2 separate regions of the Homo sapiens genome follow, and region 2 is linked to region 1. The links are contacts of gene promoters, found by promoter capture Hi-C in blood cells and fetal thymus (Javierre and others, 2016). All regions are on one chromosome and are shown on one strand. Each heading gives the region's core, a stretch centred on a gene start or on the middle of the fragment in contact. The rest is flanking DNA. Distances are from core to core; before and after follow the strand shown.

Region 1 (6,963 bases), core at 4,114-6,613:
CGGGAGGCTGAGGCAGGAGAATCGCTTGAATCTGGGAGGTACAGGTTGCAGTGAGCCGAGATCACACCACTGCACTCCAGTCTGGGCAACAAGAGCAGAACTCCATCTCCAAAAAAAAATAAAAATAAAAATAAAAAAATAAAAAACCTTTTAAGTGGAAACAGCATTAAAATGAATGCAATCCCAGTGTATGAACCTCTGTCTCCAAACCTTCCAAAGTTATGAAAGAATGTCAAGCCTCAGCTCAAACAAATCTTTATTCCCCTTCCTGCCCTCAGCCTGCCGTAACTCTGCTCGAGGCTGAGCCTCTTCCAGCTCTAGAGGCACTTGCATACTCCCCTCACCTACACCATCCTTGGAGTTGATGCGAGCCAGGGACTGAAAGCCTTGAGGAAGCAGAGTGTTGAGAACAGATGGACCCTCCTAGTCCTAAATTGCCCAATTACCAGTGCAGGCAACATGACACCTTCAGAATGGAACCTAGACTCTAATTTCCTCAATTACCATTGTCGCTCCTTTCCTTTCCTGTGTTGGCTGAGGCTGGGTTCACACCTTTTCCGAGTCAGCCGCTGCCTTGCGGGAGGCTTCACAGGCCTGGCTCCCATCCCAGCTTCACAACTCACTATCAGGATAAGCTTTGGAGAGTTATTCAGCCTCTCCCCGTTTCCTCGTCTCTGAAACGTGGCTCTTCATGCCCACCTTTGCAGGACTGGGGAGGATTAGACAGAGTACATCATGTTCCCAGCAGTGGATGTTTGTTACCCATGCCTCTTCAGAAACTACAGGAACACCTAAGGCCTTAAAGGTATAAATGCCTCCGCACTTGTTTAGCTGCTCCTTAGGTCATCTCTCCCATTTACACAGAGAGAAGCTGCACAGCACAGGACCTGCAGGGGAGCCATGGCATCTGTCCCCACAAAGTGAACACAAGGGCTTCACTTAGATGACTTCTTCCATCTGCAGGGCCCAGTTTAGGCCTTGCTGGCTCAGAGAAGCCTTTTCCAGCATCGCCAGGCCCTCAGTCCTGTGCCTTCCCAGGCCTGTGTGTCCCCACGGCACCAAGCACGATCCTAACGCTTGATTTGGGAATGGGAATTGAACAATGTCTCGGGCTCTTACATCCATGAAGCTTAGTGCAGGATCTGCCACATCTCAGGTGCTTGATTAATATTCTTTAAATGCGCCTTGAGAAAAACGTGGTTTAATGTGTTTCCCTGGTTATTAGAAATATGTTATTTTACAGAGGGTGATCCCTTGCGGGATAGTCTCAGACTGTGCAAGACAAGGGAACCCTGGTTAAGGACAAGGATGGGAGGCTCCCTGTAGTAGCTCAAAGCAGCTCCTTCCCCAGATTTGGGCCATCTTGCCTTGTAGTAAGTAGATGCTTAAGATGTGTTGAATGCAATTACCTTATTCTCCCTAGACAGAAATTTACTCTTACCTTCTTACCTCTTTGACAACAGCAGATGGGAGATAAATGGCCTTTATCCGAAGTGACAACAGGTTAGAGTCCTTCTACACATTGTCTGTCACCTCCACCCTCTGCCATCTCCTCCCCAATTTGAACCTTGTTTTCATTTTCTGTGGGTTAGGTTCTCCATATCCTTCCAACTTGTATGGACAACTTGCATGACCAAGTGATCCATTCTGGCCCCCGTCCCTCTTCCCCAAACTGCATATCTGCTTCTCTGGAAGATAGTCTTGGCTTTGATATTTCAGGCATCTAGTTTGTGGGCAGGTAAGCCCTGGCATGTTCCTCAGGCCACACCACTGTAGTCTCCTATTCCACCCGGAAATAACACGTATCTCCTTACACACAAAACTTTCTTCCCTCAAGCAAGACCTCCTCAAGCAGCTGGGCCCATGGTCCAGGCTCCTCCAAGCTTATGGCCTTGCCATCAGGGGAGTCCTCACAGTGATCTGGCGAGCACTCTGGCCTGGCTTGTCATGTGCTCATTCCTGGTTCAGTCCTGTGGCTGGACATAGGTTCTATTCAAAGGACATTTTCACAAGAGTTGGAGAAAGATGAGTCCCTCCAAAAGAGGTGATATCCTGAGTAGACAGAACAAAAAATACTCACTGAAGAAAAACTAGAAAATCAATGGAAAAGAAAAAGAAATCACACAATCTTTTTTTTTTTTTTCCAAGACAGAGTCTCGCTGTGTCACCCAGGCTGGGGTGCAGTGGTGTGATCTCGGCTCACTGCAACCTCCGCCTCCCGGAGTTCAAGCGATTCTCCTGCCTTGGCCTCCCCAGTAGCTGGGACTACAGACTGATGCCACCAAACCCGGCTAATTTTTTGTATTTTTAGTAGAGACGGGGTGTCACCATGTTGGCCAGGCTGGTCTCGAACTCCTGACCTCGTGATCTGCCTGCCTCAGCGTCCCAAAGTGCTGGAATTACAGGGGTGAGCCACCATGCTGGGCCCACGCAATCTTTTTATGCAGCATTAGGTCTTTTCAACATTTTACTTTTTATCCTTTCGGAAATATTTTCCTATGTGAATATGTGTGTGTATATATGTACATGTCTATTCATATATATGTATATGTGTGCATATATAAAAGAATTGTAGATTCTGTTTTGGAACTTGAATTTTTATTTCACATATTTTGAAAATCTTTTCATATATGGTACTCTTTCATGGATATATGAAATCCCAATGTATGGATGAACTATTCTGTATTCTGGACATTTTTCTATATTCATACTTTTCATTAAATAATGGATAACTTTGAAAGTCAAGCAAAAGTGTTTGGCATTAGTTTGACATCTGAATTTCATACTAAAAGCCATTGGCACCTTATACACAAAAACACCCAAACCAACTTTTCTGTGTCATAAAATACTGTCTTTTATAAGTAACTGGCTACCAAAGATGCTGATGCAGAGTTCCATGGATTCCCTGCTATTTCCTCTAAGTTGTGGGCTGCTTGGGGTCATGCTGAGTGGCCACTGGAAAGGGCAGCTGCCTGACAATTTCCTCAATCCCCCTGGGCACCCACACCATCAACTGTACCCCAGCCTAGGTCCTTAGTCATGGCAAAGGGTCCCTGGACCCCAGGAACACAGGATTTTCAGGAACTATAAATAGGAATTTTTAAGTACGGTTATGCTCTCTGAGAACAGAACTCCCCTTATCTTATGAGTGTTTGACTCATTGTTTAGGGACACAGCTGACCGTGGCATAGCCTTTAGTTGGGATGGCACAGGACAGAGGGTGCATTTTAGGAAAATGAACTTGGTTTTTGGGGAGGTATCATCTGGAGGTGGGAGAGACTGAAAGTTAGAGTTGATCAGGGTTGTGGTAGGCAGGACTCTACGAAGGCCCCCGAGATGCTTGCATGGAACTGTGGAAATGGTGTGTTGTCACTCCCATAATTAGGCTACTTATCAGTTGACTTGGAGTTAATAGGCGATGATCCTGGGTGGGCGACCTATTGAGGAGACCTCTTATGAGAGGGACTGGGCCCTGCCTAAAGAAAGTCTCCCCTGGCTTTGAAGAAACAAAGAGCAAGTGAGCCTCAGGTGAGACCACAGCCCAGGCGACACCTTGACAGGGGGAGCTGAGTCCTCTCTATCCTTTATATCCTCACTGGCACTTTGGCCAGGGGCTGGTTTGTGAATAGCTCGTCCTCAGTGAGTGTCAATGAAATGTCAACCGACCTTGTGTGGGCGAGTGCCTGGAGGGGGCAACTACAGTAATCCTTGCGAGGGCCCGCAGGCCATCCGCTCCTCACCCTCCATTCCCCACCCCCAAAGCCTCCCAACCCACTCCCAAGGGCTCCCAGCTTCCAGGCCAGAGGCAGTCACATGGATAAGGCCCCCAGCCTTGGGCACATCCTCTTACCTCTCTAGCCCCGTGTGGAGCTGGAACAGAGATCGCCCAGGCTTCTTTCATTTCTGAGGTGGTGTGAATGTGACCTGGACAAGCAATCGGCTTGTGTTCCACTTTCCACTGTATTAGACAGGGCCCCCCATTTCATTCTGAACCCCCACAGTTGCTCTCTGAACCCCACGTTCAGTGAGAACATGGAATGCTACCGGCAGGGCCGGAAGTCACCACGCACTGAGCCTTGCGACCCCTGCGGCCCCATACCCCTCTCCTCCCACAGCTCTCTCTGCCTCATAGTCCATTTTCTCTGCCTCCGCTTTCTTTTGGCCAATTTCCTAACAGGGCTTTCCTTAGCTAAGCCCCTGGCCTGGTGCCTCTTACTTTTGTTATTAAGTGAGTATAAACGGCAAATTTCTTGAGCCTCCCTGGCCTTCCTTCGAAGAGACATTCCAACTCAAGTCCTCTCCTAGCCAAGTCAGAACTGCAGCCCCTTGGCAGCAGGCTGTTCGGGGAGGTCATAGCCCCGGGCTGGGCCCTGGCTTGTAGGTGAGCAGCTGGGACATCGGGGGAGGCCATGCCACATGCTGGGAAATTTCTATGCCTCTGGACACCATTTGCATCTTGAGCAAAACTGAAAGACAAGATGGATAAATAGAAAAGAAGAGACATCCTCCCAGGGGCTGAGACATAATGTTCTCTCTCCCGTCTTTCCAGGAAATGGCAAGTGCTCCTGGGAGCTACGAACTTTCTAGGACAAAGATGCCTCAGCAAGAGCAAGCGGGAAGAAGAGGAGCGGCAGGGGAGGCCTTTCCCAGCTGCCTTCCCTGTTCTTTCAGCTCGTGGCTTGGCTGGGGCGAGGCAGGGGCCCAGGGGAACACGCTGCTGGGCAGAAATAGCTTGCAACCACTCCCCAGGGTTATGGAGGTTATTTGTGGAGATGAAAGCAAAGGAGGGAAGGGAAAAGAATTTAACCTACACCCAGTTGCCCGTAGAGGGGCCTGAATCCCACCCTGCTGGACTAGCTCTTTAGTTTCTGCTTTCAGATTTGCTCAACCCAGAGTCCCTGCAACAGAAGGCCTTTGAAAGAAGGCAGATTCAGGGCTGTGATGAGAAACTGGCATGCGTTGGCAAGCAGACTCTTGGGACATGGCCTTTGTCCGAATCTCCCTCACTTACACGACTATACTGCAGACGACAGCTAACCCAAGGGAGCCTCAGAATGTCCCTCAACAATGCGGGTGTCCCTGGGCAGACTGCACCTGACCAGAGGTCAGGGTGAGGGCAGAAAAGCTCCACGGGACAGCATCGTGGCTGCGTCCTCGTGATGGGACCATGGGCAAGTCACCCAGTCTTTGTGGCCAGTGTCTGTCTTCCTAAGTCAAATAGGCCATGCCCATCTGCTCCAGCCATCATAGGAGGAGGACTGTTATGAAGATCAAATATGTGAACATTCTTTGACTGTGAGGTTGCGGTGCGGTTACTCACAGGGCCTAGCCCAGAAGCCAGCTGATGCTGTTGCATTGGATTAGTCATTTTGCTGGCCCGAACATAGCCACCTGTAAGCTGGAACTTCCTTACGGCAGCCTGTCACTTCCACGGGACCCACCAGCTTAAATGCCGGCAGCCCTGGGACTTCTGGCCTCACAATGGTTGAGGTAGGGCTGCTTACATTTCCCTTCTCTGTTTAGCGTGTGCCGGATAAGTCCCTAGTTCGGATACCGTCGGACGACCCACATCTCCATGTTGACAAATAACGTGGGAGTGGGCTAAAGCTGTACGACCCCTGATTTCAGATTCTAATTTTGATTCCATGCTGGCAGCTCTCTCCCCACTGCAGGGAGAAAGTGCTGGAGAACGTCGTTCCCGCCTTTGATAAGCTAATCTTACCCCCTTCTCAGCTAAGGGTCTGGGCGGTGGTGGGCACGCCCGGACTGACCCCCAGCTCCAAGGGCAACTACTATGCGTTCCTGGACTGGGCAGGAGCTGGAAGAGGCAGGGAGGAGGTGGGAAGCGGCTCATGCCTTGTCCAGGCTCCTCTCCTAAAGTATTGTCTTTCCGCTTGGAGCTGGAATTCTCTGCCTTTATTTTCTCGGAGCTGGGCCTCTGCAGGCTGCCCCTCGGTCATTCCCTCCCAGGAAGAACGGCCTTCTGGGGTGGGGGTTGCTGTCGGAGCTCAGAGAGGCTGGGGGCCCCCCTACTGCCTATTCTTCCTCCTTTGGGAACTCACAGTGCTAAAAACAAGCTTTCTGAGAACCATATTTTTCTGGGTTAAAGGTGAAAAATGCAGCGTTTCCTCCAAGTGGAAAGCCCTGGGCCTGCCAGCTCCAACTCCGGGCGCTTTTCCGAGCTCCTTCCTCCCACGCAGGGAGGGGGTAGCAGCTCCTGCAGGGCCAGGGGAGGAGGTGGGCAGGGAGGAAGGAGAGGGGGCAGCAGCAGGAAAGCGCCAGTGCCCGTGCCAGCAGGGCAGTCTGTGTGTGGACACCAGCCGGCCTGTTTGTGTTGGAGGGCCGGGAGAAGGGAGCAGGACTGGGTCAGGAAATGAAAGACAAATACCAGGGTGGGAGAGTGGCACGGCCTTCAGAGCGGCGGGCAGGCCGGGGCAGCTGCCTGGGCAGCCGCAGAAGGGGGACACAGAAGACCCCCACAGACCTTCCTGAGAGAAATCCTGAGGTGGGGCCTCCAGGAACATGCAGGGTTATGGGAGGCCATCTTAATAGGAAAAGCAAGGACATCCTCACCCCACACCCGGTCACCCTTGCTTCGAACATGTGGGAGGTTCCGGGGAATTTCCTCAGACCCTGATTGTGGGAGAAAAGCTTTTCAGGATCCCGTGCCCCACTCCATCCTTCCTCCCTAGGACAGGGACTGCTGTTAGCCTCTGAGCTCCCTGGCGACACCCCAAACCTTTCTCTTCAGCCAAGAGCCTGGCCAGCCTTCAACATGCTCTCCCCACAGCGGCTACCCAAAAGCCAGGCACAGATCCCATCTTCCAGCCGGTCCAGTCCCTCCTCCTCAGAACAGCAACGGGGCCAGCTGCCAAGTGTCAGGGAGCATGTGGAAGGAGGGCAAGGGGAAGAGAGGGCACCGCATTGCGATGGGGGAGGGCGGGTGCTGCTCGCATCAGGCCT
Region 2 (6,964 bases), core at 4,265-6,764, 1.1 Mb before region 1:
TAGAAAAGCATTTTAATGAGGGTAATAATTTCAGAGCCAGGCGCCAATGCCTGAACTTCCAAAGACCTACAATGACCACTTCTGCATCCTATAAAGCTCCTTGCAGTGGGGAGGGATCAGTTCTCTTGCCGTAGTCCTTTCACACCCATAAATAAGCTCTAAGTCTTTGCATTTGATGGAAACAGAAAAGAATGTCATGCCAGAGAAGGGGGTGACCAGAAACCAGCACTGCTTTGGCAAGTATGCATGCAATATAAGAAATCTTTCACCTACAAGTGCCCTGGTAGAGGCAATTCTTTTTTTTTTTTTAACTCAATGATTCTAACAGCATAAGCCCTCAGGTGAATAAATAACCTACTACTTTCTTGCCAGTAGCACCAGGTCATATAATCTGTGGCCTGGAAGCTCCATCACCACACAGGTGCCACCATGCCTGGAGCTTTGTGGGACTTTTAGCACCAGGTTCCCTTCCATGGGAAACAGAGTGACATCTACTTGCTCCTACTGCAGGTAAGTTAAAAGGCATCCATTCATGGTAACAGTCTGAGTGGAGTCAAGGGACATAAAAGGGCAACAAGGCACAGAAACCTAACTGGAGAGGCTAGGAGACTTGGGCTGACTTGGCAGATGACAAGCTTTGTTGCAGATTTTAAAAATAATGTTGCTTTAAGAACAGAAAGCAAGCCAAGCCAAGAAACATCGACAGTAAGTTTTCCTTCTTTTTCCCCCCTAAGATATGCTGAAGCCAGGTTTAATTTTATGTCAGGAAAGAATTCCCTCCTGAGACTTTCCTGGCTACGGTTCAGTTGAGAATAATGTTTTCCAGCCATGTTTCCAGAGTCCCTGAAAAGTTGAAAGGAAGTTACGAAGCTCTCACTTTGTATCAGCAGGGGGAGCTGTTATGATAAAGAAACTATGTGGTTTCTTCCTGTGAAATGAAATTGTCAACGTTCTCAACATTTCATTTTCGGGACCAGGGAATACTTAAAGAATGAAATATTGACAGATACTAGCAGCTTTTATACGTCTTATTTTAACGCAAACCCCTTCGTGTTATTTTAAAACGTTATTAAATAAATGTTAAATTCCAGAGTAAACAATTTTTAATCAGAAGGAAAAAGCCTTAGATATTTGTATAAGTTGCCTGTATACATGCCATATTTGTATAAAAAGCCTGCAGAGCATAAGAGTATTTCATGATACTTCGATCACCACGTAATGTAACATATCTCATACTACCTATTGCAATCCCGAAGTCTCTGATGGAAATGGTTGTCTAAAATGGGATTTCCAGGGTATATAAAAGAGCCATTATAATAGCCTCATAAAAACTTAGCTCCCTTTACCACATAAGATATGTTGATGCTGCCATCAACATATCTGTTTCACAAACATCAACTTATCTGTTTAGTACATTCTGGTTTTCAAATTGCTTGGGCCCATTTAAAAATTGAGGGGGAGGAAAGTAGGCAGGCCAAACTCTCTGCTTATTAAAACCAGTCTTTACACTTCTGATGGTTTGTTTTGAAGTCCTACATTACAGCCACACAATGTGATTCCCACCAAGTTAAGGATTAAATGACTATTAACATCTTAAGCAATTATCAAGCTCACACACCTCTTATAACTTGTTTTCTTCTAGCATCAACAAAACACTTACCTGTAGGAACTTCAGAAGTTAAAATCTGAAAAATATTGATATCTCTCATAGACATTTCTGTGGCTGCTGTATATACATTATTGTCAACTATGCCCCCTAAGTAGACTTCCAGGGAAGGCTGGCCAAAGAGAATGCTGAAGTTCAGGTGAATTGAGTCCTGGAAAAGATGGACTTCATGGGGAATTGATTGGGACATAGGGGATTCAAGAACAGAAGAGACGATTTTCAAGGAAGAATTTGAAAATCAATGATCTCTCAGACCAGGTGTATAAGCAATACAATCACCTTAAAGGCTGATATTATATGGGCTAAGGAGTTTCATTACAGCAAAGCATTTCAGATTCTCAGAGATATTATGGGGAAAAGGATATGAGAAGGCAATAAATTGTCCAGAAAATAGACTGAAACTGATAGAGGGCTGGCAGTAACAGAGTCAGCAAGCAAAGAATACAGTATGCAATATACGTCTTTTTTTTTTTTTTTTTTTTGAGATGGAGTCTCACTCTGTTGCCCAGGATGGAGTGCAATGGCACAATTTTGGCTCACTGCAACCTCCGCCTCCCAGGTTCAAGCGATTCTCCTGCTTCAGCCTCCTGAGTAACTGAGATTACAGGTGCCTGCCACCATGCCAGGCTCATTTTTGTATTATTAGTAGAGACGGGATTTCACCGTGTTGGACAGGCTGGTCTCGAACTCTTGACCTCCGGTGATCTGCCCATCTCGGCCTCCCAGTACTGGGATTACAGGTGTGAGTCATTGCACTTGGCCAGTATGCAATATATATTTATGCAGTGGAGGTAGAAGAATTGAGGGAACAGAGAGAATTCAACAGAACTCATTCAATAATAGCCGAGTCTTCCCTCAGAAGAGTTTTGAGAGAAATAATTGTTAATATCCTATAGCATCATGAAATACTTTGTATATCTGCTCTCAATAAAAAAGAGCTAACATATCAGCTATTTTCAAATATGACTAGCTTACAGTAATATCCTTTCTGATATACTTATCAGCTGGGCTGTCACTGGATACAGAAAGTTCTGAAGCATCTTGTAACTGGCTAGGTACTCATTCTGAACTGTGGCCCAAGCAGGGCTAACATGTCTCTTGGGGCTAACATGTTTGTTTCTTCTTTACACAATGAACTCTTTTTAATTAGAATAAGACTGTGCATTCTGTGTGTCCTCCAAGGGGACCCTGATCTCCAGAGACTTCATTAGAGATGTAGTGAATGAGATATTACCTGTCGGATCCAGCAATAAATCAGTAATGGAAGGTTTGCATTGATAGTAGTCTGGGGTTGAAATTGTTCTTTCTTTGCAGACGTTCAATGAATTTCAATAATTTTACATAAACATCTCATTTATTAAGCAGTATTAACTTAATCAGAAATAAGAAGGCTTTGTATTTCTAAATCATTCTTTTCCAATTATTTTATACCAACACTTCATTCTCCTCTGGCATCTAAGGTAGCTCCATAGTTTCCAGTTGCTTTCTGATATTAAGGCTTAGTCCAATTTAAAACATCAAACATTAGTTTATTCTCCCCTTCTTTCCTCTTCCACTTTACCCAGTGCAAGTAGGAACGGGCACCCTCTCTAATTAGGAGTCTGCCTCAGGTACACCATCACCTTGCATTCCCCTTGTTGTATTCCTCTTCATGGTATCGAGCTGAGAGGTAGAACAGGGAAAGGAAAGAGTGTAATGCTAGCAGGCTGCTATCATAACCTTTCCCTCTTGGTTCCTGCTGTTTTTCTGGCCAGCACAGCCTAGCTGTTGATATCATCTGCAAGGCAGGCCTTCAAATTCTAGCTCTGGGGAATAAAGGTATGAGTTTTTGGAGCTTCAGTGATTTTAAGCCAACTTTTTCAAGCCCCTGAGCTCTCACTGCTGGCCATATAGTGCATGGCCTCGTGTTGCCGGGAATCTGTCTTGGAAAGGAGGTTGAACAAGCCCAGCTACATTCAAAGTAGCATCCACTTGAACCTCAGGCATCACCTGTCTTGGCTCTGAAACTGGGTGAATCCACACTACCCCTACATCTCTTCTCTCTCCAAGACTGTTCTCCCCTGCTCCTATGATGAAGAGGTAAATCCACAAGTCCTTTTCCTCAGCAGATGTCCAATTAGGTAACTAAATTATATGACAGCCTTTGTAAATGAGTCTCTTAGAGCCTCTCAGGAGGTTTTAGGAAGAAAGACCAGGTACTCTAATTTCCCTTCCCTCCCTTGGGGAAGGCAGGGAATTTCCTCTTATCTCAAACGCACCGCATTCTAATGACCCTTGGATCTGCTCCTCTCTGTCTTGTTCCCAGTCTTATTATATAGAAGACGGAGGCTGGCAGCAGTTTGCTGCATCCATCACCTCTTAAGAAGCTTTGGCTCTGACTCTGGTGACTGTCAGTTCAGATATTAAATACTTTCCTGTCCTCAGCCTTGGTCCTAATTACCAACCTCAGAAGTCCCACTAAGAGCTTCTTACATGTGGAAGGTAAACAAAGTTCCTTGGAAGAAAAAAAAAAAAATACAGATAACATACGGATATTTAGAATAGGTATTTGGCCTCAGTTGGGCCGCTGTTAAGATTTTTTCATCATCATCCATTAATTCAACATATTTAGCAAATAAGAACTAAATGCCTACCACAAGTTGAACAAAATGATAGACTCTTATAATTCAGAGAAGAAGAAAATGTATTCCCTGCTCTCTAAATGCCATTTCCTACTGTATAGTATTTAAAATCCAGGACTGTGGATGCCAGTGTGAAGGTAGGGGCTGAGGGCAGTCAGGGCAGAGGGAGAACATACAAAGCTGGAGAAGGCAAGGTAGACTTAAAGAAGAGATGGCATTTGAAAGGGCTCTTAAAAAATGAATGGCATCGATCATCGGGCAGGAAAAAAAAATAGAGGAAATAATATCAAGTAGAGATAATAATGGCATGAGCAAAGACAAAAAGATACAAAGATTGTGAGGCAGTTAATGCCTATGCCTCTGTCAGCGGGGTGGTGAGAATATAGTGAGGGCTGGGCCTCACCAAATCAATTGATTCAAATTCCAAGCTCCTTAACTGGTAAGGAGTGAAAATTCCAATTGAAAATGGGAAATTCCAAACCGGTTAAGGAGTTTGGAATTTTTCTGTATATAAAATGGAGAATTGTTAAAGGTTTTAAAGTGAAATAATGATGCATGGAATACCATTTTAACAGTAAGTCTCAATATCAATATGAAATAGATGAGCAACTAGGGAGTTGGGAGACGACATGATCTGGAGAGCTGGTGAGTGCATGAACTCAGTATATAACAATGAGGAAGGAAGAGAAGGAACAGAGATGAGAAATCTTTAATAGTAGAATTAAATTGAGAATGACTAAGGGATTTTAAGCTTTGGTGTCTGGACGTGTAAGATATGCAGATATTCTTGCTGAGATAGGAAACACAGGAAGAACTGGCTGAGAAGAAGAGAATGAGTTCATTTGGAGATGCAATACTTTAAGGTGATGAAGAACATCTAGGAGGAGCTTCCCAGGAGTCATTTGGGCCTGGAGTTCAAAGCAGACTGGCTAAATGAGGGAACAATCAGTGAATAGAGGAGGCTTGAAGCTAGGTGAGTGCACGAGAGAATGTCCAGTTAGAGTATGTAAAGGGAGCAGGGAGCTTGGGACAGAGCACTTAAAGAACTGAAAAAGGATGGAGAGGAGGTAGTGAAGAAGCTGGAGATAAAGATATCAAGAGAAAAAAATCAGGATGGACCAGTGTCTCAAAAGCCAAGGAAAGAGGAAATGTCCAGCCCGACTGAAGCAGTTCCAGTGTGAAGTGTTAGAGAAAAGCCACATAGAATAAAAACTGAAAAAAAAAAAACTCATAAGATAAAGAAATTGGGAAGTATTTGGGTGATGCTGGATTTAACTAGACCATGCTTCTCTTGTGTTTAGATATTTGAAATGTATGTTTTAAAATAGACTTTTTGGAGAACTCTTAGCTGTCTTTTGTGTCGGAAATCTGTGTAAATGCTGATTTTTCCAAAGAACATGAAATGTGCTTATATCCTTACATTTTTCTTTAGGATAAACAAATTTTGAGCTAATAAGCAAAAAGGAAGAGACATGCACTTAAAAAAAAGCATTTACTGTACATGAAAAGGGCCATTACTAAAACAGTTGGAAGTGATAACAGCAATTTTTCTCTGTAGGAAAGGAAATAACTTAGATTCAGGAAAAGGAGCTTGCTGACAAGGCAGTCAGTCATATGTCTCCCCAAAGGAAGTTAAGAGATTGGTTTTTTAAGGTCACAGTTCAATGGAAAGTGAAGTTGATGTTCACTTGAATAAAGCTTTCTTCACTTATGCTGAGTGGATTATCAAAATAACTAACAGAAACAATAGAATGAGATGGTAATACCTCCCTCAGTCCTCCGAGCTTTTCAATGTCAAGTCAGATTATTTGCTGAAAGAGCAAGCATCTTGAAATATGATGAGAAAGTTCATATAGGATTTTTTTTTTTGCTCAACATCTTAGTCCCATATAGCTACTTAATTGTATATTTTCTTGAATAAATACATCAAGAATAAAAGATTTTCAAAAATATGTCATTCTCCTTTTGTGAAGAACTAGATCAGTGGCTCACCATATAAATGTACAGTATTAGTTCTTATATTCATAGAAAATACATTATCAAATAAAAAACGATTCTTTTATATGTTAATTCTAATAAAAAACTACTTCAGAATATGTATGGACTCAAAGATAACTCAGGAGAAAGGAGATAAGATTAATAAAGTGCTTGCTGTACTTCAGGCATATGCTGAGAATCGTGGTGATATTAATGACATAGTCTATGAGTCATGCCCAGTGACCAAGGGCTCATGTGTCCTCTCAACATTTGAAGCAGTCTTCGAAGCTACCCAAAGCCCCACTGGATGTTGATCTCATCAGAATATGGTTATCAATGATCTTTGACCCGTTGTCATCCTGAATCAAGGATAATTTCGATCTTAGAATAAATGGAGGTAAAAAGAAGTAAAAGACTTTTATCTTGAGCCCCTCACTATAGACTGGTTTCTCTCTCTTTCAAGGGCCTATCTCTCCCCTCTTTTGTTGAAAGCAGGCCTGCTCAACTATACTCAAAGCATAGGAAGCTACTTAGGTCATTTGCATATTTTTAGTATTTTATATTCCTTTGCAACCTTTGTAACTTTTACTTTCTACCCAACGTGAGAATCCCTCCTACACAGTAAGGCATTCAGGTTAAATATCTAGAGCCGAACATTACCCAGACTCAAGTTCTAATTCCTGCACTGTCATTTACAAGC

What was found. Contacts are between HindIII fragments. The CHiCAGO score rates a contact against its expected background, and 5 or more counts as called.
Region 2: a fragment that was not itself captured here is called in contact with the fragment with the promoter of EGFLAM-AS5 in region 1 in 1 of 17 cell types (naive CD4 T cells); the score reaches 6.0 in naive CD4 T cells.

The regions. Positions count from the first base shown.
Region 1 is chr5:38,466,766-38,473,728 of GRCh38, reverse strand. It overlaps EGFLAM-AS5 (EGFLAM antisense RNA 5), which reads left to right and starts at 5,363. Exons shown (of 2, transcript NR_199676.1): 1 at 5,363-5,490. RefSeq lists enhancers at 4,025-4,896, 6,264-6,963. The HindIII fragment of the contact is 4,194 bases long and covers 1,886-6,079 here.
Region 2 is chr5:39,541,666-39,548,629 of GRCh38, reverse strand. No RefSeq gene overlaps it. Among named protein-coding and RNA genes, the nearest start is that of LINC02104, 25 kb to the right of the region's middle. The HindIII fragment of the contact is 947 bases long and covers 5,041-5,987 here.